Regions from separate parts of the Homo sapiens genome. Here region 1 is linked to region 2. The links are contacts of gene promoters, found by promoter capture Hi-C in blood cells and fetal thymus (Javierre and others, 2016). All regions are on one chromosome and are shown on one strand. Each heading gives the region's core, a stretch centred on a gene start or on the middle of the fragment in contact. The rest is flanking DNA. Distances are from core to core; before and after follow the strand shown. Region 1 has its middle 200 kb from the start of SMLR1. Region 2 holds the start of TMEM200A (transmembrane protein 200A).

Region 1 (4,511 bases), core at 1,350-3,849, 260 kb after region 2:
ATGTAGTCCTCCTTGTCTGTTTTTAGTGTCATATTCAAGAAACCATTGCCAAGACCAATGTCATGGAGATTTTCTCTTATGTTTTCTTTTAATAGCTTTGCAGTTTCAGGTCTTATGTTTAAGTCTTTAATCCATTTAATCCAACATGAGTTTTGTGCATGCTGTAAGTCCAATTTCATTCTTTTGCATGTGTTTATCCAGTTTTTCCAACAGTAATTATTGAAGGGACTATCCTTTCCTTATTGTGTATTTTTGGCACCCTTGTTGAAAATCAGTTGATGTTATATGCTTGATTTTATTTCTGAGTTTCCTATTCTGTTCCAATTGATCTATTTGTCTGGTTTTTTTTTTATGCCAGTACCATATTGTTTTGATTACTATAGTGTTGGGATATATTTTGAAGTCAGGAAGTACAATACGTCCAACTTTGCCCTTCTTGCTGGAAATCCCTCTATTTAGGGTCATGTGTTCCATATGAATTTTAGGATTGTTTTCCTATTTGTTTGAAAAATGCCATTGGGATTTTAATAGAGATTGCATTGAATCTATAAATCACTTTGAGTAGTGCAGACATTTTAACATTAATTCTTCCAATCCATGAACATGGGATATCTTTACATTTATTTGTGTCTGCTTTAACTTCTTTCATCATTGTTTTCTAAATTTCAATGTACAAGTCTTCCACCTCCTTGGCTAAGTCATTTCCTGAGTCCTTTCTATAGCCATTGTAAATGGGGTTGTTTCCTTAATTTCTTTAATTCCCCAGAGATGTTTGGATTGCAAACAGATAATTCCACTAGCTATAGAAAAATCTATAAATGTTGACTTTCAGATTTATTTTCCAAGTATCCTTTGAAAGAAACAAATAGCATTTTTGTACAGATCCCCCAAAAATGATAATTTCATTTTTATATTTTAAGTCAATTTAAATTCAATCTTGAACCTAGAAAAATTAGAGTATTAGTCTGCTTCAATGCCCACACTCCTGTGAACATTGTCAGAGTCAAAATGGAGTAAATTGTGTTTAAAATTCTGGCAAATAGAGCTGGGAAAGTCCACGAAGGAAGGGTTCTCATGCATAAATGACTAATAGCAAGAACTATCACAAAAGACGCTGCAAAACCACAACTTTGCACAAAGGCCATGGCAACTTTACACAAAAATATACTTCTGCAAGGACATCTGCCCAGCAACTACCTGTCCAACCTCAGACCAGCAAGGTTATTGACTTTTTTAGCCAAGGATAATTACCTTAAAACAATTATGTAAACTTTATCATTTTTCTTTTAAAAATCCTGGTCTTCTTTTACCTTCCTGAATACGCACATAGTTTACTGTGGCACACATATTCCCTTTGCAATGCCCTATTTCAAGAAAATAAATATTTTCTTTTATAGAGCGTCTCTCTGCTTGTTATTAAGGTTAACACTCGCTGCTGCTTCTTAAAACACACCAAAAATAACTGTTTTTTCTTTCAGACTTTTCCTGAGAGAGCATATATTCAAAATTCTCTAGTTTTCTGTTTATTGTTGTCATTGTTATTGCTGCCTGTAAGACAACAAATATACCAAAAGCAAGAGAATACTTTCATCTAACCAATTTTTCATGCCCAACAAGTTGCTAAAGCAAGATTGATGAGTGAACGGCTAGAATAATAGGAAGAACAAACTTTTTCCTGCTGGTGGGATAAGCTGGTGCTCAGCTGGAAGCAGTTCTCTAACTGCTGAAAGAATAATGGAAACTTCTCTGGAACATCCTTAGGGAATTTAATACCTGTAAATGAGTGAAAGGAAAAAGGTACAATGTGCACAAACAAGCATATACACATCTTGAAATGAATTCTAGATCCTGAAGCTTAATTCACAGCTGCTAGTATTGAAATCCTTTGTTTAGAATAATTTAGAGCAAATTTAACCAGTAATTAATAAAATAGATTTTACAGTAATTGAAGTTAGATAGCGAAGTTGATAATTATTTTGGAGCTTTAGAATTTTTCTCTCTACAAACTAGATTTCTAAGAATATTCTTTTTTTTTTTTTTTTTTTTTTTTTTTGATATGGGGTCTTGCTCTGTCACTCAGCTTACTGCAACCTCCACCTCCCAGGCTCAAGCAATCCTCCCAAGTCAGCCTGCCAAGTAGCTGGGACTACAGGTGTGCACCACCACACTCTGTTAATTTTTGTATTTTTCACAGAGGTGGGTTTTCACTATGTTGCCCAGGCTTGTCTCAAACTCCTGGGCTCAAGCAATTCACCTGCCTTGGCCTCCCAAAGTGCTGGGATTTCAGGTGTGAGCCACCGTGACCGGCCCCTGAGAATATTCTTAAGATATTTACAGTGGAATAGGTAAAGTGAGTGATAGGGAGTGCTGAAGATAATAAACAGAACTCATTATCTGAAGTTATCAGTAGTTCGGTTTTCTCACAGTTAATCCATATTTATGAAAATAATAAGTTGTCAATCAAGAATAGAATCAATAAAAATATTTATTAATCTGCCATGTTAAGACTACAGGCACATAAAAACAAAGAGATTAATTCAAACATTTCATCTGCATAATACCTCAAACCTGACTATTTAAAAGTGGTTGGGTAATTAAGTAGACATTTCACTTTTTATACAAATATTTGGAATCTTTCCATGCCTAAGGTTTATTTTCTTCATTAAAGTGTTATGATTACTGCCACTTACCTGGGAAATAAAATGTGACAGGAAGTTCATCATGAAATGGAGATGCCATTCCCTGCCTGGGACTATTTCCCACTCTTGTTCCATCTGTACAATAGTCATTCTATAACCTCGGCCCCAGAGGGTCTGAGGTTGGGACTTAGCCTTACCAACCAAAGAAACAACTCCTGGTCTGAGTCATAGAGTCATAAATTTAGTCACATAAAACTGTCATCTTCAGTGACACTCATTGAAAATGTGCCTGGACCTATACAATTTCCTTTAAATTAATTTCAATTTCCAGGGAAAAATGATTCAGAAAGCAAATAACGTTAATGTTCTTCCCACAAATTCAAAATAATTTTGAGAATTTCACCACTATATAGTCAGTTATAAGATGGCAAAATAAAAACATTTTTCAAATTCTTAAAGCAGTGAGATGCTAATTGTTCATTTGTGAAAAGCCAGAAGCCCTGTTTTTAAATAACAGTGCATCAATTTCCAACTTGAAACAGATGTTGGCACTTGGGATGACTCATTATTCTTAACTCCTGTCGGAGCACTTGCCCACTGGGCCTCAGATTAAATTTCAGAACACAGGCAGCAGCACTAACTTCTGAGAAGAAAATGTCACTAGAATGCCATTTCACATCAGTGACAGTGGCTTCTTCAGAAAATTAAGCTTCATTTCATGTCTGCAAGAACAGTGACCATTGACTCACCACTGCGTTAGTTCAGCTTGCCCAATAATAACTACAGAGCTTCACTCTAAAATCAAGTGCAATAGCTGCAAACAAGCTTAGAAACGGGACTCAGACAGAGCACCTAATAACTGCCCTCGCAGTTACTTTTCTTCAAAACTCATTCTACTTCTAAAGATCTATAGAATATGGACATAATTTGGTCCTTAAAGTCTAAAATAGACAATGCAAATTTGGCTAGATGAATTTGATCATTTGATCAGAATCATCAAGCGCTATCAGAAATTTATCATTACATATTATTTTTTACTTAAGCTCAAAGACTTTATTTAAGTTTCCAAATCTTATTTAAAAACACATTCCAAATTAAGTTATGGGAGAGTGAACAGTTCTGTGTAAATTCTAATTTAACTTAATTTTTTAAAAGACGAAGATCTGATCTCTCGATCAGGAGGACTCTCTAAACTTGAAAGCATTGGAAGGTATCAGAAAGGAAAATAATCACTGTATTTGCTTTCCTAAAAATGTAAAATATATGTATCTAAAAAGTGTCATTCAAAAATTAAGAAACATATAAAACTGAGTAAATATTTATGATGAATATTGCAAAGGGTTGCATTCTTAATTTAAATTGATAAATGACCACCAAAATATCATTATACAAAAGACATGAGCAAGAAATTCACAGGTAAGGAAATATAAGTAGCAAGTACATTTAAGAAAAAAGTGTTCAACCTATCAATTAAACTGACAAGGTGTTATCTTTCTTTTAATAAATTGACACTATTTTATAAATATATTATTTTTAATATAAATATCATTTATTCTTGGCATTAGTATTAGTAGTATTATGTTAGTACTCTCAGTATTAGAATTAGTAGAATTATAAATTAGTCCCATCTTGCTAAAAAAAAAATGCATTGGCATTTTTTACTTGGAGCCTTAAAAATATGTACATGCTTTAGACCAGGAAAGTTTTACATACAAAGATCATTATTGCTATGTTCTTTATAAGAGTAAAATGTCCGAACCAACCTAGATGTTCAAAAATAGAGGAATATTTAAATTGATTATGAAATATACATATCCTATATTGTGTACAACTATGTAAGAATTTAAAAGTATACCTGCAAAGTATTTTAAT
Region 2 (4,424 bases), core at 1,435-3,934:
ATACTCATTCTTTTTCATTTCAACGTATGTTTCCAAAATTAATTCATTAAATATGAATTGCCATCCATCAGACTTTTATAATACTATACCAAGAGTGAAAATGTTGATCTTCATATTTTGACCTTTTTTCATGTTAATTCTTGATTCCAGAGGAAGAGCCTTTTTTTGATGATGTTAATTGCATTAAAACAAGTTTGATGTGAGTGTATATATGTTCAATCACATATGTATTGAGGATCTGTGACTTGTAGGAAGAATATTATACACATCATTTCATTCAATTTTCACAACACTTTGAAATAGATACTTTGTTCCTACTTAAGGGATGGGAGAAATGAGGTACCAAGTCCCTCTGTTAGTAGGTGGTGGAGCTTGGATTACAGGACACTTGGATTACTCTCTTTCTACTATGCACTCTTATAAGATGGGCTTGTTCTAGTGGAAATTTACATATCTCATATAGACACAGCAAAAAATATTATGTGTGAAGTGCAGTGCTACTTGATGGCGAGAAGTAGAAAATAGTTGACTTCTATCCATTATTTCCAAAGCCGATGTGTAGCTGAATTCAAAATCCATTACTGGCATGGTATATTCACTGTCAGATGGGAAGATATTGGCCATTAGTAAGGATAAATAATTTACCTGAGATTCCCTTGAGCACTCAAGGTCAGGGAAAATTTATAACTAATGTGTTGAGAGTTGCTCGGACTACTGAATTGCAAATAATCCTCTATTTACAGGCCATTTTACCCGCCTCTTCTGAGACTAATAGTAATTATTTTAAAAAGAAATCTAAATAATTCCCTTTTGGTGATTTTACTTAGTCTATCTTTCTTCTTTTTTGGTAAATCACTAAAATCTGAGTTCATAGTTCATAAATGAGGAAGCATCAATATCTGTGGCCTTAAGAATGTGCTTATTCCTTTTTTCATGGCTCTCATCAGTCTCTTTTTGAGGACGGCTCAGTCACTCAATGCTTAAAATGGCTAGATGACCATTTTAAACGTTTTACCATGGGTCTTAGAGAGGATGTCACCTCAAATGATCTATGGACTATGAGCCTATTCCTATTACTCACTCCTTAGATAGTGAGGGGAACCAGGAGGTGTTTCCTCTCAGGAGCTTTACAGACAATGTGGCTTCAGGGTGTTTCTTTATAAAATGTAGAGGTAACTAGGAAGAGGGCCCAATGGAAGCACACTCCTTTGATATGGTGCTTGACAAACACATTTAAGAAAACCTAAGAGAATTGAGCAGGTGGCTGTGGGCTAGAATACTAGATGCAGGTGGGGTAAAAATAAAACCACAGATGGTTTATAAAGGTGACTCATCCTTCCCCCACCGTAACTCCTTTAGTTTTCTTTTCTTTCTTTTTATAAAACATTTTGATTGTGACATCTCCACTAAAAGTGCCCAATCTCTAAATTCTTCTAGTCAAGGCAAGAAGGTTATACCACAGGAAATCCATTTCTACAGTCTCTTCTCATTGCCATATCTGATTTTAAAGACTTTTTTTTCTAATGTGGAAATTTTTGCATGGCTCTCCCCCACCCCCCAAACACGGATTTTATACCCCCCCAGAAGCAAACTTTTCTTGAAAACGAGATAAACAGATCACACGCCGAAATAAACAAATACACTGCACCAGAATATCATACTTGCCTTCTATCACTTAAAACAGATCCAGGGGACACAAGCATAGCACACACCTTGTGCATGCGGCTGGCCTGCACAGGGGGTGGTTGGAATATCCGGTAATTAGTTTTACATGAAACTTTACTTACGGAATTGGCCTGCATATATACAGTCATCACCGTCTTTGCCGAATTAGAGACGACATATTTTACTCTGTGAACAGGCCAGTCTCCACTCACTGGATGTTTGGGGTCAAGGAGGAGTAACCTGAACCTCTCGTTGGCTTTGATGTTTGGAGTCGAACATCCGCACTGCTCATCGAAGACCCCCGTGCTTCAGTTCCCTCTGTCTTCCATTTCCCCCGCCCATGGTTCTCGCCCCCCCAAGCCGTTCTCCGGAACCCCTTGCCGGGCCGGCGGGAAGCGTGGACGGAGCGGGCCTTGGCCGCGTCTTTTCCGGCCAGGTTTGGTTTAGCTCGCGCAGCGCCCGCGCAGCCCGCCAGGGGGACCCCGGCCCGCCGGGCGGCATCTGAGGAGAAAGCGTCCGAGGGGCGTGGAGCCAGGGTCCTGCGGTGCCTGCTCCGGGAATACTGCGAGTCGGCTGGAGCTCCCCAGCCGCTCCGGAGAACTGGGGGAGCCGGGTCCCTGGCTCGGTAACCGGTGGTCCCGCGGTAGCTAGAGGCGGGCCCCACGGGTGGGTGTGTCCGTTTCCGCACGCCAGCCTTCCAGCCCGGGAAGAGCGCCTGCAAGCGGGTACTTTGTTCCCAAAGATGGGTTTTGTCTGCGGGTGATTTGGGCTCTCGAAGTGCAACTTTGTGGCCGGGACGCGGATCGGCCGGCCTGGGCTCCTGCAGAGCAGATCCTGTCTGCGTCCTCCAGGAGGAGTGGGTGGCAGGACTGGGGTTTCCCACAGGTTTTGGGGCGGCGGCGAGATTGGCACGGTCCGGGGTCGCAGGCGCGCAGCCACGCCCCTGGAAGTCCGCCCCGGCCCCCGCCCCCAACCCGCCTCTTCGGGGCTTTATGGCGTGAGGTTTGGGGCTGGGATCCATCTGGAGCCGAGCAGAAAACTTTTCCCCTCCCGTTCCCGGTCCCTTTTGTCTTTCTTGGACGCGGTGGCGGCGCCGCCTGAGCGGCGACTCCCTCTCCCCTGCCCGGCTTGCTGCGCCCGGTGCCCTCCGAGGGCAGGCGCGCCTGGACTCTGCGCCCGGATGGCGGCGGCCCTCTGTGAGCACCGGCAGCGGCGCATCCCCTGCCCCGAGGCCTCCGGTGCCCCCCCGGCGCGGGCATAGGGGCGCCCCCACCCTCCGTCCGCTTGCACCCCTTGCCACCCGCCCCCTCGCCTGACTCATCCGCCCGCGGTGGCCGCCCGAGCCCTGGGATGGGGAGGGAGACCGCGGCTGCCCGCGGCGGCCGAGATTCCCGCTGACGCCCCCGACCCTGCCGCCTTCTTCGTCCGCCTCCAGAGGCGCCCGACGTCCCGACAGCTCCTGGAGTGAGACCAGGACTGAGAACAGGGAGAGGCGACCCGACCCCCAGGGCCCGGTGCTCAGGACAGGTGAGGGGAAGGAAAGGGTGCTGACGGGAGTGGGGAGGTGGGTGGGCGGCCACCGCAGCCGAAACCGGGCACTTCTTCAGCCCTCTGCCCTCCCCTCCCCTCCGCTACAGCCTCCAGAGTTAGGTAAACGCTGTCTCTCCTAAAGTTTGGGAAATAAACCAAGTCCGCCATCAGGTCCAGACTCCCCAGTCCCGGGAGCGCGAGAGAAGCCGTGCGGGGCAGCCTCCAAGAACCCGGAGTACTGGAGCGCCTGGCTGGGTTTCTCCAAGCAACACCCTCCTTTGTCTCGGTTCCTGAGAGTCAGCATTCTCTGTAATGTCCACAGCGTTAATTCATGATTGAGCAAAGTATGGTCAGGGTTTCGTAAAGCAGTATCTGGATGGGGTAGAATCTACACAGGCAAAATGGAGAGGCAAAGCAATTATTTGCAAAATTCAGCACTACTCTTCTCCCTGTAGTCTTGTCTGTAAGAGAAAGGACTGAGGGCTTCTAAGATTTGCTTCATTAATCATTCTTTTGCTATAAATTGTTCCAGCCAACACTTCACATTGTGTAGGCGCAAGCTCTCTGTGTGTATTTACCGCTGTTTGATTTAGAAAAATGTGTGTGTGTTTGTGTGTTTTTTTTAAATAACAATTCATTGTTCAGTACCGGGCATTGGTAATGTCGGAGAGAAAGGCAGATGCAGCACATACAGGTAATTGACTAATTGGAATCAGCCTTAGTCCGGTCCACCTTAGTCTGGTGTATTTAAAAACTAAATATGTTGGACTAAAGTGTCTCTTGCCTTGTCTCTTCTGAATACCTTCAGAAGTAGTTATGGACAACTGCATAGAAAACATTTCAAGAATCGATGATTATTCTTGTTTATAAGAAAGAATATTGAACTCTCGGTTTTGCAATCAAACCAAGTTTGAGGCACACTTTCTATAGTGCTGTATGCATAAATATTACCAGAGCTTGTGAAAGCTATTTACTTTGTCGTTTCTTGAATTATGGAACACTTATAAAAAGACCTTCAATTTGTTATTTGGCTACTGATACTAGAAAGCATTATCATTTTGTGAAAAGTAGACTAAATTTTGAAACTTTTTAAACCTTACTTTATTTTCCCACTGTTTACCTACACAGAAGTATGTAGTTGTAGTTTCATTCTTTATAAACACCTCAAGTGAAGAATAGAAGTCCTTCTAAACAGAAAATAATGCTTCCATTAAGTGGAAACTATAGTT

What was found. The method cuts DNA at HindIII sites, captures the fragments that hold promoters and counts their contacts. A CHiCAGO score of 5 or more calls a contact.
Region 1: a fragment that was not itself captured here is called in contact with the fragment with the promoter of TMEM200A in region 2 in 2 of 17 cell types (activated CD4 T cells and megakaryocytes); the score reaches 5.3 in activated CD4 T cells.

What each region holds. Positions count from the first base shown.
Region 1 is chr6:130,623,178-130,627,688 of GRCh38, forward strand. No RefSeq gene overlaps it. Among named protein-coding and RNA genes, the nearest start is that of SMLR1, 200 kb to the right of the region's middle. RefSeq lists a silencer at 3,007-3,301. The HindIII fragment of the contact is 1,494 bases long and covers 1,853-3,346 here.
Region 2 is chr6:130,363,333-130,367,756 of GRCh38, forward strand. TMEM200A (transmembrane protein 200A) reads left to right here and starts at 2,685. Exons shown (of 3, transcript NM_001258277.2): 1 at 2,685-3,192. It also overlaps a transcript of SAMD3 not described here. RefSeq lists a silencer at 2,119-2,218. The HindIII fragment of the contact is 9,800 bases long and covers 1-4,424 here.